Regions from separate parts of the Homo sapiens genome. Here region 2 is linked to region 1. Evidence: promoter capture Hi-C in 16 types of primary human blood cells and fetal thymus (Javierre and others, 2016). All regions are on one chromosome and are shown on one strand. The core of a region is centred on a gene start or on the middle of the fragment in contact, and the rest is flanking DNA. Distances in the headings are between cores, read along the strand shown. Region 1 holds the start of RAMP2 (receptor activity modifying protein 2). Region 2 overlaps RETREG3 (reticulophagy regulator family member 3).

The links. Contacts are between HindIII fragments. The CHiCAGO score rates a contact against its expected background, and 5 or more counts as called.
Region 2: a contact is called between a fragment that was not itself captured here and the fragment with the promoter of RAMP2 in region 1, in 1 of 17 cell types (erythroblasts). The highest score is 6.1, in erythroblasts.

What each region holds. Positions count from the first base shown.
Region 1 is chr17:42,757,810-42,763,358 of GRCh38, forward strand. It overlaps RAMP2 (receptor activity modifying protein 2), which reads left to right and starts at 3,418. Exons shown (of 4, transcript NM_005854.3): 1 at 3,418-3,549; 2 at 4,025-4,090; 3 at 4,546-4,654; 4 at 4,788-5,232. The coding sequence starts at 3,453. The coding sequence ends at 5,043. It overlaps RAMP2-AS1 (RAMP2 antisense RNA 1), which reads right to left and starts at 3,448. Exons shown (of 6, transcript NR_024462.1): 1 at 3,071-3,448; 2 at 2,826-2,902; 3 at 2,617-2,704; 4 at 1,930-2,071. RefSeq lists a silencer at 3,532-3,621. The HindIII fragment of the contact is 18,952 bases long and covers 1-5,549 here.
Region 2 is chr17:42,597,038-42,602,586 of GRCh38, forward strand. The region is part of intron 1 of RETREG3 (reticulophagy regulator family member 3); the gene reads right to left. Among named protein-coding and RNA genes, the nearest start is that of RETREG3, 9.6 kb to the right of the region's middle. The HindIII fragment of the contact is 4,096 bases long and covers 1-3,651 here.

The DNA.
Region 1 (5,549 bases), core at 2,168-4,667:
GGCATGAGCTGCATACCCAGCAATAGTATCACATTTTTTAAAAGACACTGAGGCCAGGCACAGTGGCTCACACCTGTAATCCCAGCATTTTGGGAGGCCAAGGCAGGTGGATCCCTTGAGGTCAGGAGTTCAAGACAAGCCTGGCCAACCTGGTGAAACCCTGTCTCTACTAAAATACAAAAATTAGCTGGATGTGGCGGCGTACACATGTAATCCCAGCTGCTCAGGAGGCTGAGGCAGTAGAATCACCTGAACCTGGGAAGCGGAGGTTGCAGTGAGCCAAGATGGCGCCACTGCACTCCAGCCTGGGCAACAGAGCAAGACTCCATCTCAAGAAAAAAAAAAGTCACTGAATAATAGGAGTATCAAATCCCATTTATGCTTTCCTTTAAAAAAATCCAGAATATGTGGGAAATGAGATATGAGTGGGGATACAAAGTTTTCTGGGTTAAATATTTTGCAACAAGTATATACTTACATATTACTTGCAATTTAAAAACTGTATTTTTTAATAGCAAAAGCAGAAAGGGGCTTAGAAAGGGAATGTGAGGGCCCTCAGGAGTGGAAAACAGGGGACTTCCCATGACGAAACTAGCTTCTGTTCCTAATACGGCCCTTCCTCTACCCATTGCTACAGATCATCAGATCGTGGGACTATCTCCTATGGCTACATGGAAAAGAAAGGTGAGGTCTCCTGTCCCTATTCATCTCCAAAGACCCCCAAAGTAAACCCTCAGTTACCCGGATGCTCTCAGAGGTCGATAAAAACATTCAAACATCCAACTGGCATGGAAAAGTGGAAGAGGAAAATCAAAACGAGAGAAAATTCCCAGATTCTCCAATTAGACAGTTTGGACACCTGAGCTCAGGAATGACTACAATAAGTTCTCCTTTGGAGGTCTCAACATCATGATGCAAACTTAACCCCAACCCTAGGCTAAAAATAAAACTTCCCAAGGGCCAGGTGCAGTGGTTCATGCCTGGAATCCCAACACTTTAAGAGACTGATGCAGGAAGATTGCTTGAAGCCAGGAGTTCGAGACCAGCCTCGGCAAAAAAGCAAGACCCCCATATCTACAAAAAATATGCCTGCTGTCCTAGCTACTTGGGAGACTGAACCAGGAGGATCTCTTGAGCCTAGAAGCTCAAGACTGCAGCATGCCATGATTCTTCCACCGCACTCCAATGTGGGCAACAGAGTGAGCCCCTGTTCCTAAAAAGTAAAGTAAGATAAAAATAAAATAGGAACTTCCTACCAAGTTACCTATATTTTCTTTTTTGATCTTAAGGCCATTTTACATATGAAAATCTTGAGCTCCAGAGATGTGAAATAACCTGCTCAAGTTACTTGCAGTAAGACAGAGGCAGAACCTACCTTCAGAATCCTCATCAGTTTTTTTCTTTCATCCGTTATGATTATCCATTATCATTATGCCATATTGTCCTTTTTTTTTTTTTTTGAGATAGGGCACAATCACAGCTCTCTGCAGCCTCAACCTCTGGGGCTCAAGTGATCCTCCTGCCTCAGCCTCCCGAGTAGCTGGGACTACAGGTGCACACCACTATGCCAGGCTAATTTTTTAAAAATTTTTTTATAGTTTTTTTTTTGTAGAGACAGGGTTTCACTATGTTGCCCAGGCTCTATTTTAAATCTAACATTTGCTTTTGTCCCCTTTAATCTTGACCCCAACCCCAGTCCTAACCCATAGTGGGCTCATGTGCTTCTGGCCCCAACCCAGTGAAAATGGCTTGTTTTGCTTTCTGCACCTCCTTGCTCCTTCCTCCCATCTTATCACTCAGAAATCTCCCATGCTTCCTTCTTGAAAGGAGCAATCCTAGGCAGGCAGGAAGGACTAGATTTGGTCCCAGCCTGAAATGTCTCAGAGACTGCATGGCTCTTTTCTGCATCATTGTAGAAATGATCCTTACCAGGAGGACTTTGGAGTTCACGTCAAGCAGGCCATTGACTCTCTCCCACTGGATTCTTTGCAAAAGCAGCCTCTTGACCATAGAGGAGGACAACAGGTTATCCGTGCCCATGATCCAAGAGCTTGAGATCCTGAGATGAAGACTTCAGGAGAGATCAGGACAGATAATTTGTGGTGGGCAGGAATCAGTAAACTGGGACAACAGCAGCAGCTGAGTCCAAGGGTCAGTGTCTGGGAGTAATTTAGGAAAGTTTGGTGCTGACAGCTGTGTCTGGGACTTGAACGTCATGGCCAAACCAGCTCCTGGGCTCCTCAGCTGCTTCAGACTAATGAACCTCTGGCCCAGGACACAAGAAGCAGCTGTGGTGTGGCTGAAGTCAGGACCCCCGGAGGCCCAGACTCAGCCTTGCTGCTTCCTTAACAGTGTGACCTTAGATAAGTCACTTAGGAAAAGAGGAAAGGAAACTAGCATTTAGCGAGTGCAGTGCCCTTTCACAGCTGCCATCATACAGTGAGGAGGGGAATGTCCCTATTTCACATGAGAAGTCCTGAAGGTAAACGTGTCATTCAAGGCTCTATAGCTGGGGAGTAAGAAGACAGAATTAGAACCCAGAGCTTCTGAATTCAAATCCCGGGCTGTTGGCCCTGAGCTTTAGCTTCTCGGTCTGTAAAATGGTGTTACACTCACCTGGCACATGAAGTCGCACACTGAAGGTTCTAAAACCCCTCCATTCTTTCTCCCAACCGTGGTCCTGAAGAGCTGTGGCACCTTCTTCCTGGGAACGTAGTCATCGTATTTTGCCCTCCCCACAACAGGTTTGTGGGGTCTAGGCCCCAGGAGGTGTCTGAAGGGAAGGTATTTGGACTTTGCTTTCCCCTCTACCCCACTCCCCAGACCTTCTCCCGACTCCAGAGGGCTGGCTCCCGCTTCTCCTCCCTGGTTTTGGCTGGCGGACTGACATCAGCTGGTATTCCTAGGGATAGGATAAGGAACCCTGAGCTGCATGGCTCAGCTCCAGGCGCCCCTTCCCCCACAACCCAGGACAGCCCCTTAGAAGCAGCGGCGTCGAGAGGCCGCTGGAGCTCCCAGCCCCCTCCCTCTTCTCCACGTCTGGGAGAGCAGCTTGCCGACCCCTCCAGACCCGAAAGAGAGAGGGGGCGACTCGAATTCGGGGAGCGATCCTGGGAGACCCTGGAGAGTCCTGGGCGCCACGCAGCCGAGCCCCCGAAATAGATCCCGGTTCCGGGGTTCCGGGAGCTGTCCAGCCTCGCGGGGTGAGCTACGAGAGGGTGGGCCAACGCCGGCGAGGCGGAGGGAGCCGCGGGCGCCAGGCGCGGGTGAGGCAGCGACTCCCCCTCCAGCCGCGGGCCCCGAGCGTCGCCCCCGCCCCCCACGTGGCCGCCGCCGTCCCAGCCCCTCCGAGGAAGCGGCGCGGCTTCCTGCAGCTTGGGCTGGGGATATAGGCGCCCCCACACCCGGGCCCGGCTCAGCGCCGCCGCCGCTCCTCGCCTCCTTGCTGCACGATGGCCTCGCTCCGGGTGGAGCGCGCCGGCGGCCCGCGTCTCCCTAGGACCCGAGTCGGGCGGCCGGCAGCGCTCCGCCTCCTCCTCCTGCTGGGCGGTGAGCGCGGCGCCCCGAGGCCCGGGCGGGAGGCGCGAGAGGCCCCGGAGGGGAGAGGGGAGAGGGGAGAGGGGCTGGATGGCCGAGGCCGGAACGGGCCCTGGGGTGCGGGTTAGGACCGACGTACCTAGCAGCACTGGCCCTCGGACGGTCCCTGACCCCACCTCGGGGCGGGCGCAGCATGAGCTGCTTCCCACCCAGGGAAAGCTGGGGTGCTGGCCCCGGCCCCTCGAAGAGGGCTTAGGAGGACGGAAGCTGGCCAGAGATGAGGGGGCTTTGGGCCTGGGTGTGAGTGACAAGGAGCTGGTGCCAGCCCCTCCCTCCCCGGCACTGAGGCGTCCGTGGGGGCTAGATTATTCCTCCTTTTCTTCCAAGGTAGCCTATTTTCGGAGGGTCTCAGTCCCCCAACCCCCCTCGCAGGCTCCACTGCCGGGGTCCCCGCTATGTTACCCTCCTCTCCCGTTTCTTCCCACAGCTGTCCTGAATCCCCACGAGGCCCTGGCTCAGCCTCTTCCCACCACAGGCACACCAGGGTCAGAAGGTGGGTACCCAGGGTGTGGAAGGGTGGCCGAGGGTAAGGACGAGAGCAAGTTCAGTGGGGAGGGTTCCTTTCCCACGAGGCCTGCCCAACCCCAGCTGATGCCCCACTACACTCCCCTCTGTTCTTTCTTGGGGTTCCTCGTGGTCTTTCTCCCTGTCCTCCTACAAAGCCCCTGCACGGCTCTGAGCTGCCCACCTCACAAGTGGGCGAGAAGACCCCAGGAAAAGGTGTACGTGGAAGTTCTTATCAGGCTGGGATGGAAAGTGCTTAGCACATGGAAGTCATTATAGGATTCCTGAGCTGGGACTCTGTCCTCAGCCAGAATGTTTTGCTAGGGAAACTTTCTGAAGGGTTCCCACGTTTGAAGACAGGCAGTTCACCTTGCAAGCACCTGGGCAGGAGGGTTTGTAGGGAGGGGTAGGGGTGTGGTCATTGTGTAGCATCTGTACCTACAGGGGGGACGGTGAAGAACTATGAGACAGCTGTCCAATTTTGCTGGAATCATTATAAGGATCAAATGGATCCTATCGAAAAGGATTGGTGCGACTGGGCCATGATTAGCAGGTAGGGGCAGTGATGGAGGGTGGCTCAGGCCAGGGGGTGGACCTGCTCATTGCAGGTAGACCCTGAGTGAGAGTGGGGCACTCTTCTCCCTGGGTCCACCCCCTCTCTCACTCAAGTCCTCTTCTGCCCCTAGGCCTTATAGCACCCTGCGAGATTGCCTGGAGCACTTTGCAGAGTTGTTTGACCTGGGCTTCCCCAATCCCTTGGCAGAGAGGATCATCTTTGAGACTCACCAGATCCACTTTGCCAACTGCTCCCTGGTGCAGCCCACCTTCTCTGACCCCCCAGAGGATGTACTCCTGGCCATGATCATAGCCCCCATCTGCCTCATCCCCTTCCTCATCACTCTTGTAGTATGGAGGAGTAAAGACAGTGAGGCCCAGGCCTAGGGGGCCACGAGCTTCTCAACAACCATGTTACTCCACTTCCCCACCCCCACCAGGCCTCCCTCCTCCCCTCCTACTCCCTTTTCTCACTCTCATCCCCACCACAGATCCCTGGATTGCTGGGAATGGAAGCCAGGTGGGGTCATGGCACAAGTTCTGTAATCTTCAAAATAAAACTTTTTTTTTGTACAATGTCCTTCTCCCCATTTCAGTGGAACCTGTGTCCTTCCCTGCCACTGCCACAGGCCCTCAGCCCTGGGTAGTAGAACTGGAAAAATCTGGATGGCCCATTGTTCTGTTCATTTCACCTGCCCCCCTGCTCCCTGCCTCCATGAAGGTCACACCCCTATATTCTTTCCTCCCAGGCGGGCCTTTCCTGCCTATATCCAAACTCGGCTCCAGGAAACAAGCAGGAAGAGACTCCCTTCCGGTCTGGACAGCAGCTGGGGGCCTGCAACTGGGGAGGTGTGGGGGAAGGGGCAAGGGAGGAATCTCTGCTTGTGACTCCT
Region 2 (5,549 bases), core at 354-2,853, 160 kb before region 1:
ATTTTTAAATTTTTTAAATAGAGACAAGGTTTCACCATGTTGGCTAGGCTGGTCTCAAACTCCTGATCTCAAGTGATCCGCCCGCTTCGACCTCCCAAAGTACTGGGATTAGAGGCATGAGCCGCTGTACCTGGCCAGAAGAATCTATTTTTTCTTTTTTTTTTTTTTTGAGACGGAGTCTTAGCTCTGTCGCCAGGCTAGAGTGCAGTGGCGTGATCTTGGCTCACTGCAACCTCTGCCTCCCAGGTTCAAGCAATTCTCCTGCCTCAGCCTCCTGAGTAGCTGGGATTACAGGCATGCACCGCTACGCCCAGCTAATTTTTGTATTTTTAGTAGAGACGGGGTTGCACCATGTTAGCCAGGATGATCTCGATCTCCTGACCTTGTGATCCACCCACCTCGGCATCCCAAAGTGCTGGGATTACAGGAATGAGCCACCGCGCCCAGCCAGAATCTATTTTGTGTGTGTGTGTGTGTGTGTGTGTGTATATATATATATATATATTTCGTATATATATTTTTGTGTATATATATATTTTGTGTGTATATATATATATATATATATATATATATATATATATATTTTTTTTTTTTTTTTTTTTTTTTTTTTGAGACAGAGTCTCACTCTGTCACCCAGGCTAGAGTGCAGTGGCACAGATCTCCACTCACTTCAACCTCCGCCTCCAGGGTTCAAGTAATACTCCTGCCTCAGCCTCCTGAGTAGCTGGGGTTAAGGTGTGCGCCACTGCGCCCAGCTAATTTTTGTATTTTTAGTAGAGACGGAGTTTCGTCTTGTTGGCCAGGCTGGTCTCGAATCCCTGATCTCAAGTGATCAGCTCGCCTCAGCCTCCCAAAATGTTGGGATTACAGGCATAAGCCACCGCGCCTGGCCAAGAAACGTTATTTTATACCACAAAGAAAACTCTTCTTCCTCTGAAGTTTTTTTTTTTTTTTTTTTTTTTGAGACGGAGTCTCGCTCTGTTGCCCAGGCTGGAGTACAGTGGTGCGATCTCGGCTCACTGCAAGCTCCATCTCTCGGGTTCATGCCATTCTCCTGCCTCAGCCTCCCGAGTAGCTGGGACTACAGGCGCCCGCCACCACGCCCGGCTAATTTTTTGTATTTTTAGTAGAGACGGGGTTTTACCATGTTAGCTAGGATTGTCTCGATCTCCTGACCTCATGATCCACCCGCCTCAGCCTCCCAAAGTGCTGGGATTACAGACGTGAGCCACCGCACCCGGCCTCTTCCTCTGAAGTTATTATTGTGGCTTGTTCCAAAAAAAGATAAATCTGGGACTAAAATTGATTTATGGACAAGGATTAATCTTGTTATGGAAGATGCTCACAATTTTAGCCTTCAAGACCCAGAAAATATACCCTTTATGAAACTATTGGCTTATCTTCATCTGCAGGATGAAATCCCATTACCCCGTCATAAAAGGGCCTTCATGATCTGGATCCTGCCTCTCTCCCCACACTGATTCCCTCCCTTTGTTTTTTATATTTCAGTTTTATCAAACTACTTGCAATTCCTTAAGTATCTTACTAGATTGGTGTTTTCCCTATCTGAATGTCTTCTCTCTCTTACCACACCTTTCGGCCCCATTTCCTTAACATTTATCTTGCAAATCACAGCTTAGATATCTTCCTGTTTGTTATTATTACCTGTCACGTTATATCGTGAACACAAACACACATGAATTTACTTGAGAGTAAAGTTTGTGTCTTATTTTTTTCTGTAACTGGGCTTCTTACCACAAGGCCTTGGCATGTAACAGGTACTCAAAGGTATGTTGAATTGAATTGAAGCATAGCTTATAAGAATGGAAGGTAAGGGCTGTAACAAGCAATTTAAATAGTCCAGGTCTTAGAAAACAGTCTTTTTTTTTTAATGTTTACCAGTTTATTATAAGGGATATGTTTTTATTGCCATCATCTCTGGAAAACCAACCTTCTTAGGAGAGCTTAATATCCTTTCCCTACCCTAGTTTCTATTTGTGTTAGTAATCGTGCTCTGGGAAGGGGAAATTGCCAACAGTCTGGCAAGCCTCCCTAGAGAGCCCTTTCAAGTACTCTGGAGAAAACAGCGATGCCATGTGCTGCTGCTGGGGAAGGGAAGCAGCAGCACTGGGGAGCAAGAAACCCTAGAGCTCTTCTCCTTGGCCTTGTTAAATGTGCTTGTTTGTTGGGATGATGCACTGGCTTTAGAGAGAAGATCAATGGCCTGAGGCAGCTCTAGAGGCTTATTTCTGTTAAACTGCTTTTATTCTTTAATCTTACATATAGTCACAGTATCCTTTAGGTGGTAGGCTGGAAAAATTGAAATAGGGTTGTTGGCTGGGCACAGTGGCTCATGCCTATAATCCCAGCACTTTGGGAGCCTTAGGTGGGTGGATAACCTGAGATCGGGAGTTTGAGACCAGCCTAGCTAACATGGAGAAACTCCATGTCTATTAAAAATACAAAATTAGCCGGGCGTGGTGGTGTATGCCTGTAATCTCAGCTACTCAGGAGGCTGAGGCAGGACAATCGCTTGAACCCAGGAGGCAGAGGTTGCAGTGAGCTGAGATTGTGCCATTGCATTCCAGCCTGGGTGACAGAGTAAGGCTCCGTCTCAAAAAAAAAAAAAAAAAATTATACAACTAACATGAATTCATGTTTATCGAAAAAAAAGTACAGGCATGGTGGCTCACGTCTGTAATCCCAGCACTTTGGGAAGCCAAGGCAGGTGGATCACCTGAGGTCAGGAGTTCGAGACAAGCCTGGCCAACATGGCGAAACCCCGTCTCTACTAAAAATACAAAAAATTAGCTGGGCATAGTGGCGGGCACCTGTAATCCCAGCTACTCAACAGGCTGAGGTGGGATGACAGCTTGAGTCCGGGAAACTGAGGTTGCAGCGAGCCGTTATCGTGCCACTGTACCCCAGCCTGGGTGACAGAGCGAGACCCTATCTCAAAAAACAAAAAAGCAAAACAGAAAAAACCACCTAAACACTAACAAATTGGTTTGTGGGGAAAAAAAGAGTTTAAAAAAAAAACAACAAATAAAACCACACACAACAGGCCACATGTGGTACCTAAAGCCTGTAATCCCAATACTTTGGGAGGCCGAGGCAGGAGGATCACTTGAGTCAAAGAGTTTGAGACCAGCTTAGGCAACACAGCAAGACCTCATCTCTACTGAAAAGAAAAACATTAGCTAGGTGTGGTGGTGCACGCTTGTACTCCCATTTACTTGGGAAGCTGAGGTGGGAGGATTGCTAGAGCCAGAAGGTTGAGGTTGCAGTGAGCTCTGATTGTGCCACTGCACTCCAGCTTGGGAGACAGAGCAAGACCCTGTCTCGAAAAGAAAAAAAAAAGTATCATTTATGACATTTATAAGAAAATTGGAAATGTGAACACTGACTAGAATCATTAATTTTTTGCATGTGATAATGATGGCAGATGTTTCTTAAAGTCTCTTTTTCAGAAAAATATACTGAAATACCTAGATTAAATGATATGACACATCAATAATTTGTGTCAAACAATAAGGAAGACGTAGAAAAGAACTGGGGTATGGAAGACACAAAATTGGCCAGGAATTGAAAAAAATAATATTATGTACATGGTGGCACACAATATTATTCTGCCTACTTACACATGTTTTAAGCTTTCCATAATAAAATATTTTTAAAATGATCCATTATCCACATATGTACTCTAAAAAGTGTGAAGACAGGCTATTCTCTTCATTAAAAAATTCACATATAAAAACACTATGGTTTTAAAACTTTTTCACATAATACATAGACAATTAGCCTGATGTGGTGATGAACTCCTGTGGTCTCATCAGCCATGAGGTGGAATGATCACTTGAGCTCAGGAGTTCCAGGGTACAGTGAGCCATGATCACACCACTGCAATCTAGCCTGGGTGACAGAGTGAAACCTTCTCTCAAAAAAAACAATGAATGGGCCAGGCGCAGTGGCTCAAACCTGTAATTCCAGCACTTTGGGAGGCTGAAGCAGGTAGATCACTTGACATCAGGAGTTCAAGACCAGCCTGGCCAACATGGTGAAACCCCATCTCTACCTAAAAATACAAAAATTAGCTAGGCATGGTGGCGGGTGCCCGTAATCCCAGCTACTCAGGAGGCTGAGGCAGGAGAACTGCTTGAATCCGGGAGGCGGAGGTTGCAGTGAGCTGAGATTGTGCCACTGCACTCCAGCCTGGGCAACACAGGAAGACTCCATCTCAAATAAAATAAAATAAACTAAGACGGTGGCTCAAGCCTGTAATCCCAACACTTTGGGAGGCTGAGGCAGGCAGATCACGAGATCAGGAGATCGAGACCATCCTGGCTAACACGGTGAAACCCTGGCTCTACTAAAAAATACAAAAAATTAGCCGGGAGTGGTGGTGGGCGCCTGGAGTCCCAGCTACTCGGGAGGCTGAGGCAGGAGAATGGCGTGAACCTGAGAGGCGGAGCTTGCAGTGAGCCGAGATCGCGCCACTGCACTCCAGCCTGGGCAACAGACAGAGCGAGACTCTCTCAAAAAAAAAAAAGAAAAGAAAAATAAACGAAAAATAAACTAAGAAGGTTCCAACTTTTTTTTTTTTTTTTTTTTTGAGACGGAGTCTTGCTCTTGTTGCCCAGGCTGGAGTGCAGTGGCGCGATCTCGGGTCACCACAACCTCTGCCTCCCAGGTTCAACGGATTCTCCTGCCTCAGCCTCCCAAGGTAGCTGGGATTACAGGCATGCGCCACCATGCCCGGCTGATTTGGCATTTTTAGTAGAGATGGGGTTTCTCCATTGTTGGTCAGGCTGGTCTTGAATTCCCGACCTTAGGTGACCTGCCTGCCTCGGCCTCCCAAAGTGCTGAGAATTATAGGCATGAGCCACTGCGCCCAGCCAAAAGTTTCCAATTTTTTGATGTAATAAAAGCTGAACTATACATCACTGAGCATGTTACTGGGTCAAAGGCATTAACTATTTTAAACAAATAGCTTTATTGGTCGGGCACCGTAGCTCACACCTGTAATCCCAGCCTTTGGGAGGCCGAGGCAGGTGGGTCACTTGAGGTCAAGAGTTCAAGACCACTTTGGCCAACATGGTGAAACTCCATCTCTACTAAAAATACAAAAATCAGCCAAGACATGGTGGTGCACGCCGGTAGTCCCAGCTACTTGGGAGGCTGAGGCAGGAGAACTGCTTGAATCTGGGAGGCAGAGGTTGCAGTGAGCTGAGATCATGCCACTGCACTCCAGTCTGGGCCACAGAGTAAGACTCCGTTTCAAAAAAAAAAAAGTAAGAAAATAGCTTTATTGAGATAATGGTTTGTATACGATAAAATTCTCTTTCAATTCATCTGCCAGCAGCAGAGATGAAAAAAAAATCACAATGCTGTACGACTAATAGCCTTATGTAATTTCAGAACATTTTCATCACTCCAAAAGAAACCCATACCCATTAGTATTCTTTCTCCATTTCCCCCAGCCCTGGAAAAGCTTCTTAAGTGGCTTAAAATATGTTACCAAACTACTTGCTAGAAAGGCTGTCCAATTT